Linked DNA regions of Homo sapiens: regions 1, 2, 3 and 5 are each linked to region 4. Evidence: promoter capture Hi-C in human tissues and cell types (Jung and others, 2019). All regions are on one chromosome and are shown on one strand. The core of a region is centred on a gene start or on the middle of the fragment in contact, and the rest is flanking DNA. Distances in the headings are between cores, read along the strand shown. Region 1 overlaps PITPNM2 (phosphatidylinositol transfer protein membrane associated 2). Region 2 overlaps ZNF664-RFLNA (ZNF664-RFLNA readthrough). Region 3 overlaps MTRFR (mitochondrial translation release factor in rescue). Region 4 holds the start of DDX55 (DEAD-box helicase 55). Region 5 overlaps MPHOSPH9 (M-phase phosphoprotein 9).

Evidence for each region. The method cuts DNA at HindIII sites, captures the fragments that hold promoters and counts their contacts. A contact is called where the count stands out against the background at its distance.
Region 1: a fragment that was not itself captured here is called in contact with the fragment with the promoter of DDX55 in region 4 in 3 of the 25 tissues and cell types used here (dorsolateral prefrontal cortex, hippocampus and lymphoblastoid cells).
Region 2: a contact is called between a fragment that was not itself captured here and the fragment with the promoter of DDX55 in region 4, in 1 of the 25 tissues and cell types used here (dorsolateral prefrontal cortex).
Region 3: a fragment that was not itself captured here is called in contact with the fragment with the promoter of DDX55 in region 4 in 6 of the 25 tissues and cell types used here (aorta, bladder, dorsolateral prefrontal cortex and 3 more).
Region 5: a contact is called between a fragment that was not itself captured here and the fragment with the promoter of DDX55 in region 4, in 2 of the 25 tissues and cell types used here (adrenal gland and heart right ventricle).

Annotation. Positions count from the first base shown.
Region 1 is chr12:123,142,780-123,146,292 of GRCh38, forward strand. The region is part of intron 1 of PITPNM2 (phosphatidylinositol transfer protein membrane associated 2); the gene reads right to left. Among named protein-coding and RNA genes, the nearest start is that of PITPNM2, 6.6 kb to the right of the region's middle. The HindIII fragment of the contact is 5,243 bases long and covers 1-3,513 here.
Region 2 is chr12:123,977,550-123,981,422 of GRCh38, forward strand. The region is part of intron 2 of ZNF664-RFLNA (ZNF664-RFLNA readthrough); the gene reads left to right. All of the region lies in intron 2 of ZNF664 (zinc finger protein 664), which reads left to right. Among named protein-coding and RNA genes, the nearest start is that of ZNF664-RFLNA, 6.3 kb to the left of the region's middle. The HindIII fragment of the contact is 4,848 bases long and covers 1-3,873 here.
Region 3 is chr12:123,257,435-123,261,357 of GRCh38, forward strand. MTRFR (mitochondrial translation release factor in rescue) reads left to right here. Exons shown (of 3, transcript NM_152269.5): 3 at 1-526. CDK2AP1 (cyclin dependent kinase 2 associated protein 1) reads right to left here. Exons shown (of 4, transcript NM_004642.4): 4 at 3,542-3,923. Among named protein-coding and RNA genes, the nearest start is that of CDK2AP1, 12 kb to the right of the region's middle. The HindIII fragment of the contact is 6,691 bases long and covers 1-3,923 here.
Region 4 is chr12:123,599,832-123,603,397 of GRCh38, forward strand. It overlaps DDX55 (DEAD-box helicase 55), which reads left to right and starts at 2,268. Exons shown (of 14, transcript NM_020936.3): 1 at 2,268-2,425. The coding sequence starts at 2,318. RefSeq lists a silencer at 2,630-2,739 and an enhancer at 2,980-3,029. The HindIII fragment of the contact is 15,410 bases long and covers 1-3,566 here.
Region 5 is chr12:123,162,807-123,166,866 of GRCh38, forward strand. It overlaps MPHOSPH9 (M-phase phosphoprotein 9), which reads right to left. Exons shown (of 24, transcript NM_022782.4): 17 at 3,849-3,983; 18 at 2,496-2,671; 19 at 1,144-1,284; 20 at 208-328. Among named protein-coding and RNA genes, the nearest start is that of PITPNM2, 14 kb to the left of the region's middle. The HindIII fragment of the contact is 3,703 bases long and covers 748-4,060 here.

The DNA of each region.
Region 1 (3,513 bases), core at 199-2,698, 460 kb before region 4:
TTATGTGTGGTTTTCAAAGGATTTAAATGCTTTTTTCCAGTGTGATTACCCACATGGGAAAAATTCTAATTGCAAAAAATGTTGAGTTTTTCTCCCTCTTATGAAAAAAAAAAAAAAGCAAGTGAAAAGTCAACTGTTATAAAGTACCAAGGAAAGCACTTAAATGGGCCCTTCAGTGTGAGAGGAAGAATGTCCTCCTGTTCTCCAGAGCACCGTCGCCAAGCCAGTGTTAAGCACGCATCCACACCTGTGGGGAAGCCCTGCCTCTCAGACAACCTCACGCCACTGATGAAAGCTGGGAATAGCCACCTATTTCTACCCTGACACACCCATCCCTATCCCCCTCCCCCCTCCCTCGATCCCTCCCTCCAAGGGGCTGTCTAGAGAGACAGCAGAGGGTGGAGCCAGCAGCACCCATAACAAGCTCTCCCACTGGCTCACCACCTCATGCAGGACACTGGTGCCCAGTGAGCCCTCCCTAGGGGGCTGGGAAGCCCAAGGGCCTGATTCTAATCCCAGGAGGACAACAGAAGCAAAGTGCACAGCCCTGCTCCACAGCACAGCCTGTGAGTCAGACTTGGAAGGGAAGCCCCCCAGCTGCCAAAAGAGAAAATTCAGGCCCTCCCCAGGAGCCACCTCTCAAAAGGGGAAATAAACAGCTCTGCAGAGGAGAAACAGTAATAATCCGTATGACGTACGTACGAACTCTTAAGAGGGCACACAACAGGCAAAAGACTTGGGAAAGCTTCCTCTGAGAGAGCCCAGGCATAAGAAGGCCACAATTTGAGGCATGGGGGCCCCAGGAACCCCCCATCTTGGCCTGAAACACCTCCGTAAGAGGATTATTCCTTTGGGAGAAGGATTGGTCTCAGCTCCTAAGAAAGGCCAAGTCTATTGCAGGGCTGCCGCCAGAACCCACTGCATGAAAGTACAGGGTCCCTCCTACCTGTAGACTTGAGCAGAGAGAGATGGGCACCATTCTGCTGGCAGCAGCCCTTCTAGAAGAAGCTACAGCAGGGCTGAGGGAGGACAGCTTGTCTTTCTGTAGCACCTAAGACAAGCAAACACAAGAATCTGCCCACAGCCTCATCCCGCAGCTCCAGTCTTCATCCATTAAGTACCATCAGCATTGTGAGGTGCCCTGAGCTAGGCTGGATACACCGTGGGGGCTGACATGATGCCAAAGGTGGCAGATCCTCACTATCCATGGATTCCATATTTGTGAATTACCCTAGTCACTAAAATTTATCTGTAACCCCAAAATCAATGCTCATGGTGCTTTCAAATTCATTTTCAAATTTGTGCAAATTGGCAAAAAATTTGAGTTGCCTGATGGCACATTCCCTGCTGAGGTTGAACGAGGGGACATCCTCTATCTTCCCATCTCAGCTCTCCTAATGGAAACACGTGTCCTTTTTGTGGTCTGTGCAGTGCCACATTTTTGGCACTTGTGTGCTTTGTGTTGGTGATTTTGCTGTTTGGAATGGCCCCCAATCACAGTGCTGAGGTGCAGTCTAGTTCTTGGGTGCAAGATGATTATGATGTGCAGAGAAAATCTCTTGTGTTAGAGAAGCTTCATTCAGACATGAGTCACAGTGTTGATGGCCAGGAGTTTAATGTTAATGAATCAATGATACATATTAAATAGGGTGTCTTTTTTGTTGTTGTTTTGAGACAGAGTCTCACTCTGTCGCCAGGCCAGAGTGCAGGGGCACGATCTCGGCTCACTGCAACCTCCACCTCCTGGGTTCAAGCAATTCTCCTGCCTTAGCCTCCTGAGTAGCTGGGATTACAGATGGACACCACCAAACCCAGCTAATTTTTGTATTTTTAGTAGAGATGGGGTTTCACCATGTTGGCCAGGATGGTCTCGATCTCTTGACCTCATTATCTGCCCACCTCGGCCTCCCAAAGTGCTAGGATTACAGGCATGAGCCACTGTGCCCAGCCAATTTTTGTATTTTTAGTAGACACAGGGTTTCACCATGTTGGCCAGTCTGGTCTCGAACTCCTGACCTCAGGTAATCCACCCGCCTCGGCCTCCCAAAGTGCTGGGATTATAGGCATGAGCCACCATGCCCGATCTCTTTTAACAGAAACATATATAAAATAAGATTACATATGGATTGGTTAAAGAAAATATTGTCCCCGCAGGCTCAAAGGAGCCTAACCCTGTGTTTTCCCTAGGAGCAGTGGTTCAGTGTTCACTAACTCAGTGTTTGAAGAGGGACTTTATAGAACATAACTATGTTAGCCAGCGTGGTGCACAAGTCTGTAGTCCCAGCTACTCAGGAGGCTGAGGCAGGAGGATCATTGGGCCCAGGAGTTTGAAGCTGCAGTGAGCAATGATTGCACCACTGCACTCCAGCCTGGGAGACAGAGAGAGACCCTGTCACAAAAAATAAAAAAAGAAGAACCTAACTATGGCCAACAATATGAATCAAATAACTATGCATACATGTATGCATAGTCAGGATATACTTTCCTCAGACAGAGCTATTCCACCCTACATTCATGTGCTCCTAAGGCTGCAGGTTGGCATGTCCACACCCAATAGGGAGTTTGAGCTGTCAGCTTCTGCTCCAAGGCTGGAATCAGCCTTGAGGTCTCTTGGGTCCTGCTGCTGCTCTGATAACACTCTGCCTTTTCCCTGGACCCATGACTCCCGCTGACGTCCCTGATCATGACCTCTGATCTTTCTGACTAGCCAGGTCTTAATAAGACCCCTTTCCACAATAGAGATAAGGGACTTCAGAGGCAATGGCACTCAAGGAAAAGCTTTATGAAGAATGGGGAACTTCAACAAGGAGAGTGTGAAACTGATTTTTCCATGCTCTCTCTCCAAGGTTGTCTTGGGTTTTTGATTTGTCTGTTACCGGAAACCTGCCTGTTGGTTAATCTCCTTTGTGTCCTCTAGCAAGGGCAGTTGTTAATATAAGTAATTTGGCCAGCCACAATGGCTCACACCTCAAGAGGACTGCTTGAACCTGGGAGTTCCAGACCAGTCTGGGCAACATAGCAAGACGTCGTCTCTACTAAAAATATCGTTCTATCATAAAGATACAGGCACACGTATGTTCATTGCAGCACTATTCACAATAGCAAAGACATGGAATCAACCTAAATGCCCCATCAATGGTAGACTGGAAAAGAAAATGTGGTATATATACACATAGTATAGAATACTATACAGTCATAAAAAAGAATGAGATCATGTCCTTTGCAGGAACATGGATGAAACTGGAGGCCATTATTCTTAGCAAACTAATGAAAGAACAGAAAACCAAACACCACAAGTTCTTACTTATAAGTGGGAGCTAAAGGTGAGAACACACGGACACATAGAGGGGGGTAACACACACTGGGACTTATTGGAGGGTGGAGGGTGGGAGGAGGGAGAGGATCAGGAAAAATAACTAATGGGTACTAGGTTTAGTACCTGAGTGATGAAATGATCTGTATAACAAGCCCTCATGACACAAGTCTACCGACACAACAAACCTGTGCTTGTAC
Region 2 (3,873 bases), core at 1,065-3,564, 380 kb after region 4:
GAGTCAAGTGTGCACTCTGTGGAGGAGACCATAAAGTATCCTGAAAGGTCTGAAGGGGTACCTTGAACGGAAAGAGAGGCCATCTTCCGGGCTGTGATGTCTGCATGTTATGGAGATGCTCATTTTGGGGTGAACGTGGTAGAATACTTATGAGTAATGAGGTGAGACAAATATATTTAAACATATTATAGAGCCACATTCATTAAAACAGTATCGTTCTGGCTGTAAAATATCCATACAGGTCAATGGAACTTATTCAGCACCCCAGAAATAAACTTTTTTATATGGAAATGTCATAAATAATAATGAAATCATCACAAATGCCCCCTGAGTCTAAAGAAAATGTAAGTAAATATTAAACATCTGGAAAGAGGAGTTTTACATGCTAAGGTGGATGGAGCACATGCTTTAGACTCAGATGTGTCTAAACTGGAATCTTTTAAGTGAGGAAAATTATCCCCACTTTGCAGGTGTTATGAGAGTAAGAGATAAAGGGCCAGGCACCTACAGGGCACTCAAATCTGTAAGTAGCTGCTGCTATTAGAAACAATAGAGAAAATAATAATTAAAAATTAGTGTATTAGACTACATAAAAATTTATTCTTTAGGAAGAGAAGGGAAAAAAAAAACCCGAATCATAAAGTGGAAAATATTTGTGGCAAATGATAAGCTAAGAGTTAGTATTTTCAATATGCAAAGAACTCATCCAAATTGGTGAAGAAAATAATGAAGATCCACACACAGGTGGTTATAGGATGTGAATAGACAGTTCGCTGGATAGAAATATAACTTGTGAAACATTGGAAAAGCTGTGTAATTCATTAATAATCAAATCACTAATTACCGTATAGAAAAGTTAGATTCTGTTCTGAATAGCAGCAAAACTAGAAAACATTTACAAGTAAGACATAAATGTACCAAAGCTTTATGAAGAGAAGTAAAAACTTTTACCTAAATGATTTAAAAGCTAACCTAAATAAATGGGCAGACTTGTTCCTGGAGGGGAAGGCATCATTGTAGATTGCAGTACCTCCAAATTAAACTATGATTTCAATGTAATTACAATTGAAATCCCAGTGGGAATTCTTCTGGACACTAGATAAATTGCTTCTAAAACTCTTTTATAGGAGTAAATGTCCTAGAATGGCCAAAAAATGACAAACGTTTTTAATGGAAAAGTAGTGTTGGGGGATTTGCTATATGAGAAGTCAAAGCATACTGAAATGCTGCAGTAATATAAATGGTGAACACAAGAATAGACAGATTGACGCCTGGAGCAAAGTAGAATCCAGTAACAGACCCATTTTTATATCAGAATTTAGTATATGATAAAGTTGGTGTTTTGCAACAGTTGGGAAATTATAATTCAGTGTGTTGTATAGGGATAAGTGGCTCTTTATTTAGAAAGAAAGATCCTACTTCACATTCAAAATAACTTAGATGGATTAAGGAACTAACTAAAAAAACCTATAAAAGCATTAGAAGGAAATATAAGAGAATTTGTTATGTAGAAGGATACACTGGAAATGATGTGTTTTAGGTAGGCCATTTAGGTAAGACCAAGACCTAAAATCATAAATGAAAGGATTGATAAATTTGACTATAATCACAGTTGATAATTCTGTGACAAAAAGCGTTACAGAGTGACAGACTGGGAAAACAACCTGTAGCATGTATAAAGAATAAATAGAATTAACAAATTAGGTAATGAATTGAGGATATGAATAGTTCTTAGATAAATGTGTTCAAACAGTGAAGAGAAATTCAACCTCATTGTGATTAAGAGAATGGAAATTTAAAAACTAGATTTTTTTGTTGGGAGGAGGGCATCAGGCAAAAATTAAAAACTATCCAGCGATGTAAAAGAGGCACCTAATACATTGTTGGGACATAAAATTTTTCCAAGTTTTTAGATGGCAATTTTGGCAGAATTTTATCAAAATAAAAGTACACGTTGATTTAGCAGCTACACTTCAAGGAATCTGTGCTATTTTCATAGGAGAACATACGTTAATATAAACAATGTCTATTGCAGCGTCATTTATAATGAAAAATTGAAGATAATCACAATAAATTTTGGTACCCATATACTGTGGAATATCAAGTAGCGTTTTGTTTTTTGTGGGATTTTTTGTTTGTTTTGTTTTGAGACAGGGTCTTGCTCTGTTGCCTAGGCTGGAGTGCAGTGGTACGGAATGTGGTTCAGTGTAGCCTCAGCCTCCTGGGCTCAAGTGATCTGCCTCAGCCTCTCAAGTAGCTGGGACCACACACACACACACACACCACTACACCTGGCTGATTTTTAAATTTTTTTTGTAGAGACGGAGTCTCACCACGTTACCCAGGCCAGTCTTGAACTCCTGGCCTCAAGTGATCCTCCCGCCTTGGCCTCCCAAAGTGTTGGGATTACAGGCATGAGCCACCATGTCTAGCCTATTAGTTTTTTATATAGAGAGGTAGATTTGTATGTACTGACATAGCCTGTATGGATGTCTAGAATATACTGTTGAGCCAAAAAAGCAAGCTTAATCTCATTTTTTGTAAGATACAAAACAAAATAATGAAGGGTGAGTGTGTGTATATATATATATTCTGAATAAGAATTAGAAAAAGACTAGAATACCTGAAAACATTTAATTCTGATTACTTCATGGGAAAAGCCTAGGGGAGACTGGTTTTTCATATCACATGTGTTTGCATTGCTTCAGTTTTTTTTACAATGGGCATTTACTTTTGTAAGGAAGATGTTACAATTTCTCACCAATTTCATGAAGGTCTAGATTTAGACAAAAATATACAGTGCCTAGTACCTAAAAGGATGTGGTAAAAATGACACACTCTTATGTTACATTGGCCATATGTGTCAAGAGTCTTAAAATTATTTACATTTCTTGATGGTCTAGGAACCATCAAAAGAATATTTTTAAATACAGAGAAAAGCTTTCTGCACAAAATATGTATATTGTAGAATTATATTTATGGGCACAGTTTGCAGAATGGTTATGATACATCCCCTATATCATATATTTAGTGGCAAATAACATTGCCATTAAAAACGTTTATGAAGAAAATATATTAAAATGCTTATGATAGTGTTAAGTGGAAGGAAATCAGGATACACAATTGTATACCTGATATGATGAAAACGCCCCAAAAAAAGTCCCAGCAGCCTTCCAGTAAAACCTATGAATGGCAAAAATATGTAGAAGAAATTAGATGGAAATCTTAAGAATTGTGGAATTCGGTAGGATGTCGGGTGATTTAAATAATCTTTTTTGTATTTGCCAAGATTACATGTACCTGTATTACATGTATGATGGAACATTTGATTTAACAAAGTATATCTGGGACATGATAGCTACATGGCAAATAGACATGAGCACTTTTTTTTTTGGTTAAAGCCAATGAATAAATTTGGAATTTACACTGAAAATGATTGGGACCCATTGAAAACTTGTGAGTAGGGTAAGAACAATCCATTTTGCATTTTAGAAGGTTACATTAGAGTAGATAATGGATTAGAGGGAAGCAAGACTGGAGGCTTTTGTAGAATTCCAGGGAAGATGATGGTGGCTTGAGTTAAGTTGAGACAATGCAGGTACACAGTGGAGAGTTTCCAGAGGTATTTGGAAGAGAGTGGCTAGACCTTTGTGATGGGGGGAAGTCAATGATATTGACTTGGGCAATTGAGGGGAGAGTGGACTCATTTACTATAGTTGGGAATTGGCTATGGTTTGAATATTTGTCCCCTCCAAAACTCATGTTGAAACTTAATCCCCAATGTGACAGTGTTGAGAGGTGGGGCCTTTCAGAGGTTTGGCTCATGAGGGCAGAGCCATTCATAGATTAATGGGTTGTCATGGGAGGGGACCT
Region 3 (3,923 bases), core at 160-2,659, 340 kb before region 4:
GAACCTGGGAGGCGGAGGTTGCAGTGAGCTGAGATCGCGCCACTGCACTCAAGCCTGGGCAACACCTGGGTGACAGAGCGAGACCCCATCTCAAAAAAAAAATAAAACTAGTTCAAGTGCAATGACACACGCCTATAATCCCAGCACCTTGGGAGGCTAAGACAGGAAGATCACCTGAGCCCAGGAGCTCAAGATTGCAGTGAGCTATGAACACCACTGCACTCCACCTGTCCACTTGTTCTTGTGTGACAGAACAAGACCCTGTCTCTAAAAAATAAGATAAAACCATAAAGAAACACAGTCAGTACTATACAAGAATAATGGCTACTTCTAGAGGGAAGGAGTTGTCATTGTGATGAGGCACTTGGAGGGGTTCTGGGGTGCCTGACAAAGTTCTGTTTCTTCACCTGGGTGGTAGTTAGAAGGGTGTCCCCGTATTTCAAATTGTACCTTTGTGAGATTGTATGTTTTGTAATAATAAAATTTTTTTTGTAATTAGTAAAGTCAATTTTTATGGAGAACTGGAGAATGGAGTCAAACATTAATAGCATTTCTTGGCAACTTGCCATCTGCTGGGAAGCTGCTGCCCAGTGACACTTAAAAGTCAGTTATCCCCATGTCAGCTCAAGACAGTAAGAGAAAACAAGGGCCGGGCATGGTGGCTCACGCCTGTAATCCCAGCACTTTGGGAGGCTGGGGCAGGCGGATCATGGAAGTCAGGAGTTTGAGACCAGCCTGACCAACATGGTGAAACCCCATCTCTACTAAAAATACAAAAATTAGCCAGGCGTGGCAGCACACGCTTGTAATCCCAGCTACTTGGGAGGCTGAGGCAAGAGAATTGCTTGAATCTGGGAGGCGAGGTTGCAGTGAGCCAAGATTGCGCCATTGCACTCCAGCGTGAGCAACAGAGCAAGACTGTCTAAAAAAAAAAAAAAAAAGAGAGAAAATAAGAGGGTTGGAAGAGCTAAAGGCTCTGTTCCTTGTCCATGTGCTCTATTAGCTTCTAGGCTGTATGATGCCCAGTTGTGCCTCTGATGTAGAAACAAACACATTCCCTGCACGTTGATTTGCAAGATTTGTAAAGGTGAGGTTCCAGAATCTGATTTGCTTGTAAATTTACGTCACTTAAGCTGGATTTTACCTTACAGTTGTTTTTCTTTTAAAGCCATGCTTTATAGCTTGGCTTGTTAGAACTCTTCTGGAGTCCACGTAGAAAACAAATAGGGAAAAATGCTGAGAGGTGAGAAAGCCATTGGGAGATTGCCAGTTGCAGGGCCTCAGTTGTGCAGTCTGTCCAGCAGGCCTAGGCGGCATGTCCAGTAGGCCTAGGTGGCATGTCCAGTGCATACATCCAAGCACACCTTTCTCTTTGAGGCTGCCAATGAAGGCTCTTCTCACCTCAGTGACAGCTTTGGATGCTTACACATTCAATGCAGGGCTCATTCTACACCTCCTGTTGCGAGTGTACAGGACCCTTCCCCAGCCCAAACGCCCTGTAGAAAATAAAGGCTCTAGAACAACACCTAAGAAACCAGTAAGAGTGGGAGGGGAAATTTGGAGCTGGAGATAAGGGAGAATGGTTTCCGTTTGTCTCCTCTCTCATACCTTTGCAACTTTCTGCCACATGCAGGAAGGGGACACAGCACCCATTTCGCTAGAGCCTGTTCCTGCTGGCCTTCAGCCTTGTCATGGCTGAGAATTCGCCTCATGCCTGCATCAAAGAAAGACAAGTCTCTCTCATTTGTCTTTGTCTACTGCTCAGCAAAGCAAATTCTCATTGCAGGTATTTAGGGCCTAAGGTATAGAGTAAGAATTAAAATCCCTTTGGGAGGCACTGTCAGAGACCACCACGTGGACTCTCAACACATCCAGTGCAGCCCATTTTTTCCCTGGCACCAGAGCAGATAATTCTTCCAGTGAGCACCATATGAAGTAGCTTGAAGTTAGGAGCCGTACTTTATGAAAAAGATTCCTGTAGCACCCACCAAAAGCCCACAGGATAAGCACCTACGAACTGAGAATGGCCTAACCATGGGGTAACAGGCCAACTCAATAATACTGCTTCTGGCCGGGCGTGGTGGCTCACGCCTGTAAACCCAGCACTTTGGGAGGCCAAGGCGGCTGGGTCACCTGAGGTCAGAAGTTGGAGACCAGCCTGACCAACATGGTAAAATCCCATCTCTACTAAAAATACAAAAATTAGCTGGGTGTGGTGGCACGCTCCTGTAATCCAGCTACTCGGGAGGCTAAGCTGGGAAAATCGCTTGAACCTGGGAGGCAGAGATTGCAGTGAACCAACATCAAGCCACTGCACTCTAGCCTAGGCAACAGAGGGAGATTCCATCTAAAAAAAAAAAAATTTTTTTTTTAAAAACTGCTGCTGCTATTTTTTTTTCCTAGCATACACTTAAGTTTGCTGCACTTAAAATACACCCATAATGCAACTTCACTTTATCCCTACCTCTGACTTAGCAAACACATTCTTTCCCCAGCCAACTGTGCTAATGATATCACCAAAATGTTTCCGTGTCAGATGGGAAAATACAGTTTGAACAGGCATCTCCTACCTCTTGTAAAAGGTAAAGTAGAGGTTCCTCTCCAAAGACTTTCCTCCCCATTTAATTTGGAATAAACGGTAACTTCTCTTCGAAGCAAAATTTATTCAAAGACCTGTGCTAACATTCCTAATTATCTGCTAGCCGTGGTAAAGAAATCAATGTACTTTATGTTCTTAGCTCCCACAATTTAGCCTAAATATTTGTCCTGGCATGCTTACACTGGTCGGAGCAAGCATTAGGTCATAGCCTGTTCCTCTTCCTTATTTAAAAGTGTTTACCTTTCTCACCATTCCACAAGTTACTTTCTCCTTCCTTTGTTCTCTTCTGCCTTCGCCTCTTTTAAAAAGTTTTAAGTTGCTTCCCAATCAGGACAAATACAGAATATGAGGTCCCGTTCCAGCCAATGGAAACCGGACACAGCAGTAGGGTGGACGCATCAGGTTACAAATGACCCTGTCTCTTTGTTCGGTGTACTCTCGTGGCAAAACTGCTGGCGAATGTACCCTTTCTGCGGGAAGTAAAAATGGCCTTGCTGAGTAAATTAAATTTATGTTCAAGTGCTATTTCTTCACGGCACCGGGGAACAAGCATTTCAAACACTTTCATGAGAGATTATTTAAAATAGCACTTCTTTACACCAGGCGTGGTAGCTCACACCTATAATCCCAGTACTTTGAGAGGCTAAGGTGGAAGGATCACTTGAGCCCAGGATCCAGCCTAGGCAACATAGTGAGACCTCATCTCTGCAAAAAAAATTTTTTTTCCATCACACACCCATTCATTCAATACAAAAAGTCTTTTAAAAATTATTCAGGCATAGTGGCACACACCTGTAGTTCCAGCCACTAGGGAGGCTGAGATGGGAGGATTGCTTGAGCCCAGGAGGTTGAGGCTGCGGTGAGCCAAGATTATATTACTGCACTCCAGCCTGGGTGGCAAAACAAGACCCTGTCTCAAAAAAATAAAACAGCACGTAAGAATTCAAGGAACCCACATTTTAATACAAATTGTTAATGAAAATAAGCTTTATTACATCAAGTAATAAATACATACAAAGATGCAAACAGTTTTAGTCATTTTCTTCCAGATGTTTTTATCAACTTACAATAAACGCAGAACTGAGATCTACTTACAGTCTTAGTATGAAAGTGTTCGGGGGTCCTTGTTAGGTTTGGTGGGTTGCTCTTTCTTCTGTATTTATAACTTGTGCATTTTTAAAAATTGACTTTGAAGCACTAATAGTCATGCAAATGCTTAAGCAAAAAAGAAGTTACATTAAGCAGAACCTACATTGTATGGCAAATGGGAACCGGCTACTAAGTAAAGCGTGCTGTCAATATGCGTTCAAAACAAAATCCCTAC
Region 4 (3,566 bases), core at 1,018-3,517:
CACAGCTGAGTAGAAATAGGACTGGACAAGAAGGGCATGATCTAATGCTCATAGACTGAGTGGGGAAGCCCAGCGAGGCCTGTCTGGATTCTTTCCTTCTGGATAGGGGAAAGAACCCTTCCTGGAATGGGGTCTTACAACCTACCAGCAAAACAAAGGAGGTCAGATACATTTTTTTTTTTTTTGGAGACAGTCTCTCTCTGTCACCCAGGGTGGAGTGCGGTGGCGCGATCTTGGCTCACTGCAGCCTCCGCCTCCCGGGTTCAAGCAATTCTCCTGCCTCAGCCTCCCAAGTAGCTGGGAATACAGGCGCACGCTGCCACATCTGGCTAATTTTTTTTTGTATTTTTAGTAGAGACGGGATTTCACCGTCTGGTCTCGAACTCCTGAGCTCAGGCAATCTGCCCGCCTTGGCCTCCAAAAGTGCTAGGATTACAGGTGTGAGCCACCACGTCTGGCCTTTTTTTGTTTGTTTGTTTGTTTGTTTGTTTGTTTTTTGAGACTGAGTCTCACTCTGTCGCCCAGGCTGGAATGCAATGGTGCGATCTAGGATTACTGCAGCCTCCACTTCTCAGGTTCAAGCGATGCTTGTAGCTCAGCCTCCGGAGTAGCTGCAGGCACCTGCCACCACACCTGGCTAATTTTTTGTATTTTTAGTAGACAGGGTTTCACTACGTTGGCCAGGCTGGTCTCAAACTCCTTACCTTAGGTGATCCGCCTGCCTCAGCCTCCCAAAGTGCTGGGATTACAGGCATGAGCCACCGCACCTAGCCCAGATAATTTCTTTTTCTTTTTTTTTTTGAGACTGAGTCTCGCTTTGTCACCCACGCTGGAGTGCAGTGGCGCAACCTCCACCTCCCTGGTTCAAGCGATTCTTCTGCCTCAGGCTCCTGAGTAGCTGGGACTACAGGCATGCGCCACCACGCCTGGCTAATTTCTGTATTTTTAGTAGAGACGGGGTTTCACCATATTGGCCAGGCTGGTCTCGAACTCCTGACCTTGAGATCTGCCCGCTTTGGCCTCCCAAAGTGGTGAGATTACAGGCGTGAGCCACCGTGCCAGGCCAATAATTTCTTTATGGCCAGTTTTTTCACAGAAAGGTGGAGAGAGAGTAATATTTTTAGGTTTTATGGCTGACTGTGGAGAAAAGGGATTCCTGTTTCTATGCTCCGTCATGGGCAAGAGGGATTCTTGAGTTTCTATGGCTAGCCTCAGAGAATCAGAGATCAGAGAGGGAGCAGAAGGTCAGAGAGAAACTTGCTTCTGAGGCTGCCTCTGGGGCCTTCATTTTGGGGTTTCGTTTTCAGAGCCTCAACAGGAGCAAGCCATGCACATAGGTGGAGGAGATAGGCCCTCATAGAGGGCACATAATGAGTGGTCAATAAAAGTTTGCTGAGTGAAGGCCGGGCGCGGTGGCTCACGCCTGTAATCCCAGCACTTTGGGAGGCCGAGGCGGGCGGATCACGAGGTCAGGAAATCGAGACCATCCTGGCTAACACGGTGAAACCCCGTCTCTACTAAAAATACAAAAAATTAGCCGGGCGTGGTGGAGGGCGCCTGCAGTCCCAGGTACTCGGGAGGCTGAGGCAGGAGAAGGGCGTGAACCCGGGAGGCGGAGCTTGCAGTGAACCGTTATAGCGCCCAGCCTCCAGCCTGGGCAACAGAGCGAGACTCCGTCTCAAACAACAACAACAACAACAACAACAACAAAAACAGCTTTCTGAGTGAAGTTGTATGTGGACATGAATGGCCCAGGCAAACAGTGAACAGAGGAATGGGACAGTGTTCTTAGTTAGGACTCTGACCCTAACTTCCGGGAAAGTAAACCAACATTCAGGACGTACCGGCCATCGGACCGCAACATTCAGGACGTACCGGCCATCAGCGGGTGCCTGTTTTGCAGGGCTGCTAACCCGGGTCCCCGACACGTTTCTCTGCCCACGGTAGCCAGCCCCGCTGTCCTTCGGCCTGGACGCGGTCCTGTGCTGCCACCTGCCTCCGAGGGGCAGAGAAAGTGGGAGGGCCGGGCCAGAATCCCTCCCGCCAAAACTCCTGCCCGGTGCGGAGAGGCGCCCGGAGCCCAGGGCGCTGTGCGGAGCGGGTGTAACTCCCCAGGCCTGCCCCGCCGCCTGCCTCCACCGTCCCGCGGACGCCTTTCCTCCCTCCCGCGGCGTGGGAGCCTTCGCCGCGCTCCGGAACTCTGCTGCTCCAGCGAAGTTCCCGGCCGGCCGCTGGAGCTGCGGGAAGCGGAAGTGCTCGTTGGGGGTGCACAAGGCGCGTTCGAGCAGCGGCGACCGACGCGGCGAAGGAGCGCGCCATGGAGCATGTGACAGAGGGCTCCTGGGAGTCGCTGCCTGTGCCGCTGCACCCGCAGGTGCTGGGCGCGCTGCGGGAGCTGGGCTTCCCGTACATGACGCCGGTGCAGGTATCGGTTCCCTGGCGTGGGGGAGTGAGGCTGGGAGAGGGGCAGGCACCCGCTGCATCGGACCCACAGGAGGTGATCGGACAGATCTGAGCCCTGGGGCGCTCATCCCTCCAGCTGGGGCTCTTGCCTTGTCTCCAGCTGCCCAGACTGGCGGAATGCGGAGCTGCCCGGCCAGCGAGCCGGCAGAGGGGCCGCGACCCACCCCGCCCTCGGGTGCTGTGGTCTCAAGCCTGGTTCTCATCCTGGCCCTGCTCGCTGTAGCTGTGAGACCTCGGGCAAATGGCTTAACCTCTCCGTGCTTCATTTTCCTTCTCTGTGAAATGACGAAAAAATAACACCCTCCTTATGGGGTTGCTGTGGGGACTAAATAAACCAGTCGGCACACTATGGGAGCTCAGTAAGGGTTACCGTTGTTATGCATCTCTTCAAGAATATTTCTTGAGGACCTGCTATGTGTCAGGAACTCTTCTAGGCTCTGGGGAGTTTGCAGTATTGGCATCTGCTCATAGCCTTACTTTCTAGTGCAAGAGCTAGAGAAAGGATAATTTCAGCTGCTGGTAAGTGTTATGAAAGAACTAAGACGGTTGTGATAGTGTCGCGCGAGGACTGCAGAGGAGGTGAGATAGGGTGTTAAGGAAGGCCTCTCTGAGGAGGTGCATTGAGCTGAGACCTCAGTGATTGAGAAGGAGCTGGCTCTGAGGTGACTAGGGGGAGATTATTCCACTGGAGAGAAATACCAGTGCACATAAATGCCCTGCGGCAGGCTGCAAATAGTTTGAGCAGCAGAAAGGAGGCCTTTGTGGCTGAACATCAAGAGTAGTGTAAGAGATGGATTGTGCAGGGTCTTGTAGGCGCTTGGATTTCATTCTAAATGTAGTGGGAAGCCATCTTATCTGGGAGGATGTTTAGGAAGGGAAGGGCTGTGATTTCTCTGTAGAGAGTGGCCTTTCCAGGCATAAGAGATGAAGCAGGCAGGTCGCTTAGGAGGCCATTGTCAGGTAAGAGATGATGGTGACTTGGAGTAGGGTGGAACCAGTGGATACTGAGAAGTCACATTTGGGATAGCTTTAAGGTTGCTAAGGGACTGGAAGTGGAGGTTAGGAAAGAAAAGACTACAGGACCTGAGGTTTTTATTCTTTTT
Region 5 (4,060 bases), core at 1,349-3,848, 440 kb before region 4:
TAGTAGTAGCAAGTTTACATAGTTAAAAACTGTGTTCATTGTACTGCAGTACTTTAGTTGTAGTATGACATTCACTTATGATTTAAATGAAATTCACAGAGTTCCCACTGGTAACTGAAAAATTAGTGATAGCTAGAGACATAAGTCAACATTTAGAAAAAAATCACTAATATAGTAAACTTTATTCTACAATTTTAGAGAACTTACCGAATTGGACTGCTCTCATTTTTGCTAAGCAGATGACTAAATCCTGGGGACAAGTTTTCTTTAGGGGATCGCTTTGGACTATAAGCCACAGTCACTGGTGTTAGCATAATCTCTCTTTTTGCTATAGAAGAAAATGAAGAGGAAATATTCTTTTCCTTCTATATGTATCAGCATAACAGTTTCTTATTCAGTATTTTTTTTCTAATTTTGAAAGGAATATAATTTCAACGTAAAACTTTGAGAGAGAAATAAGAGTGTACAAAAAAATAAAATCACTCATAATCCTAACACCTAGAGGTAACCACTGTAACACTGTAGTATATCAGACAGTACTTTCAGCACTCTGACTCAAAACTGGTTTTTCAGGATTTTAGAAGTCGACTGGAAATAAGATGGAAACAGCAGTACACTACTGAACATTCCTATAACACAATAATAAGAATCTCCTCAGCTGGTGTGAAAACGGAAATTCAGGACAGGAATTCAATGCTTCAACTTTAAAACCAACCTGTTATTGGCTAAAGAAAAATGGTGACTAATGCTAAGTACTTGAGATCAAATACATAAGAAGTATATTTGAGACTAGCTTGGATTAATTTGATTGAATTAATGTTTGGATAGCTGGCATTTTTAAGTATTAGTTGCAAACAATTTAGTGGACACAATAAATTATTAGTATTAGTTGTAAACAATTTACTGGACACAATAAAAAATCTCACTTTAATAAACAGATTTCTTCATTTACATTTGTAGTATCTATGTGATCAGACAATTTTATTTATGAACAAGATCTTATTTAGGGGTCCTCTGCTCAGAGTACTCTACTAGGTGCTGAGGATACAAGAGAAACCAGAAACAGGCAAGCAGCGGGCACAAATAGATTTGACTCAGAGATCACGCTTTTGAACCCAAGAGATGTACACATCTAACTCTTACTTGGAGTACTTGATTTACGATTTGAAGGTGGTAAAGATGATGATCTCTGTGAGGCCGAATTAAGTCTCTTTTGTCTCTGTTGGGCACACTTTTCTGGAGAACGACTTGCATTAACTGAAGTTTCAGTTTGCCGAGGATTTACTACAGCAGACCAAAAAAAAGCAAAACAAAAAACAAATCAAAACAAGCCTACGCTTCAGTTATCCACCTTTATTAACAGGTGGTTACACATGGTTACACACCAAGCCCCACAGCTTAGGTTCTGCTCAAAGCATTTATTCTCACCAGCTAGGTTATAGTGACTATTTGCAAATGCACCACATTATAATGATAAAAAATGCTTGATGAAGAAAAATATGGGAGTTTATAATGAATTCATTCTGGCTCCCTGTTTACAATCGGCATTCAAGGTGATTTTCAAGAGGGTTATTTTTAGAAAGCAGGTTACTAATTTATTTACTAAGAGACACTGCTTGGGAGATGTAACCGCAAAGACGCTGGCAGGATGACTAAGGGGTCTGAGAAAGCAAGCATAGTGGAAAAGGAGAGAAATGTATTGGTGACCTGGACCTGTGAAAAAACACAGTATTAAAGACACTACTTGCCTTATCTACAGATGCTCAGTAACCAAGAAAGAAGAGGAAATGTTATATCTCACTTCATGAATACCAAATGCCTATCACAGCCTTCTGATGTGTGCAAGTAAGATGGACTGACAGGAATTTTTCAAATATCCTTAGGAATGCCATGTAAGGCCAGGAGCAGTGGTTCACGCCTGTAATCACAACACTTTGTGTTTACACTTTGTGTTGTGTTGTGGAGGACAAGGCGGGTGGACCACTTGAAGCCAGGAGTTCGAGACCAACCTGGCCAACATGGTGAAACTCCGTCTCTGTTAAAAATATTAAAATTAGCCGGGGGTGCTGGAGGGCACCTGTAATTCTAGGTACTTGAGAGGCTGAGGCAGGATGATAGCTTGAACCCTGGAGATGGAGTTTGCAGTGAGCTGAGATTACGCACTGCACTCCAGCCTGGGCAAAAGAGTGAGACTCTGTCTCACTGTCTCAAAAAAAAAAAAAAAAAAAAAAGAATGCCATGTAAGCCTTTTTCATAATCGGAATGTAAGATTCAACTGGCTTTGTACAAAAGGTACATGTTATGCCAGAACTGTGATAAATTATTAACTAGGACATTCAATTCTCTATGAAACGGGGCTGAAGTAGCAGTAAAATAGCAAGTTTACAGAGCTAAAACTTTTAATTTCATTACCTAAATATTTTAATTTTAACGAAGGTAATATAAATGGGGAAAAGATATCTATATCCATCTATCTCAAACAAGGAAATACTCACTATTTGAGGTGTCCTCTTTCTCTGTCTGTGTCCCCCAATTTTTAAATATTTTTCCCTCATCAAGTTCTTTTAAAGCTCTCATGATCGGCGTGTCTGAAGTCTCTCTTTGCTTTTTTATCAACAAGCTTGTTGATGAACTTCCAGGTGAAGAATCCTTTTCCAGAGGTGAACGGTGCCTTAAACAATAATTTTAAGACATACAGTGCTATGGACTAAATGTCTGTATCTTGCCCCCCGCCCCCACACCAAACATACATGTTGAAGCCCTAATCTTCAATGTGATGGTGTGTGGAGGTGGGGTCTTTACGAGGTAATTAGGGTTGGATGAGGTCATGAGGGTGAAGCCTCCAAGATGGGATTAATGCCCTTATGAAAAAGGGAAAGAGGCAGGAGCGCTCTCTCTGTGCACACACACCAAGGAAAGGCCATGTGAGGACATAACCAGGAAGAGGGCCCTCACCAAACACTCAGCACCCTGATCTTGCACTTCCAGCCTCCAGAGGTAGAGAAAGAAATGTGTGTTGTTTATGCCACCCAGTCTACGGTAATTTGTTATAACAGTCCAAGCTAAAACACACACTTTACTGGGGTTGTTAGGGGAATAACAGAGTTGACAATTATACTCCACAATGAGCATGCTTTGCAATGCAAATAAATTAAACCTGCATACAGTGCTTTCCCATCCTTCTAGTCCTACACTTAGAGGAACAGCATCTGCACAGCACCCTGGAGTAAGCGGCTGAGGCTGCTCACGCAGGCTCGGGGCTCGGGCTGGCCAGAGCCATCTGAAGTGGGAGAGGATCTACATCTTTTGTTTGTTTTTAGACAAGGTCTCACTCTGTCACCCAGGCTGGAGTGCAGTGGCACAATCATAGCTCACTGTAGCCTTGAGCTCCCCAGGCTCAAGTAATCCTCCCACCTCAGCCTCCCAAGTAGCTAAAACTACAGGCGCATGTCACCATGCCCGGCTAATATATTTATTTTTTGTAGAGGTGGGATTTTGTCATGCTGCCCAAGCTGGTCTCGAACTCCTAGGCTCAAGCGATCCTCCACGTTGGCCTCCCAAAGTGTTGGGATTACAGGCGTGAGCCACCACACCTGGCCTGAGGATCGACATCCTATCCTAATCACAAACCCATACTGTGCCACTGAGCACAGGTGGGGAAGCTTGGCAGAGCTCATGGAAGTAAAATATTCTAAAAGTAGTAGCCTTTCAAAGTAAAATAAAAGTCAGGTTCTCAAAATTAAGACATTAAAGAACCAAAGAGAGGGCTTCCCAAACTTTTAAAAGCAATTGAAATCTCTAAGAAAACATAACATCCCTAAATAGAATCTTTAGCAAAGTTATCTCACCCTAGGCTACAGGTTTCCTCCAGCTGGTTATCCACGTTACTGTCCTGGGTGTCCAGAGGCTGGCCAGTAAAGATGGAATACTCTGCACCTGGAATCAGCCATTTCCGCCTGCTGACGTCTGAAGTTGCTAGTGTGCTATTAGAATGAAAACGGTCAGGCATTATAAAGGTCTGCACTTCATTTCAGACTGCATGTGCATATAAAACAATCTG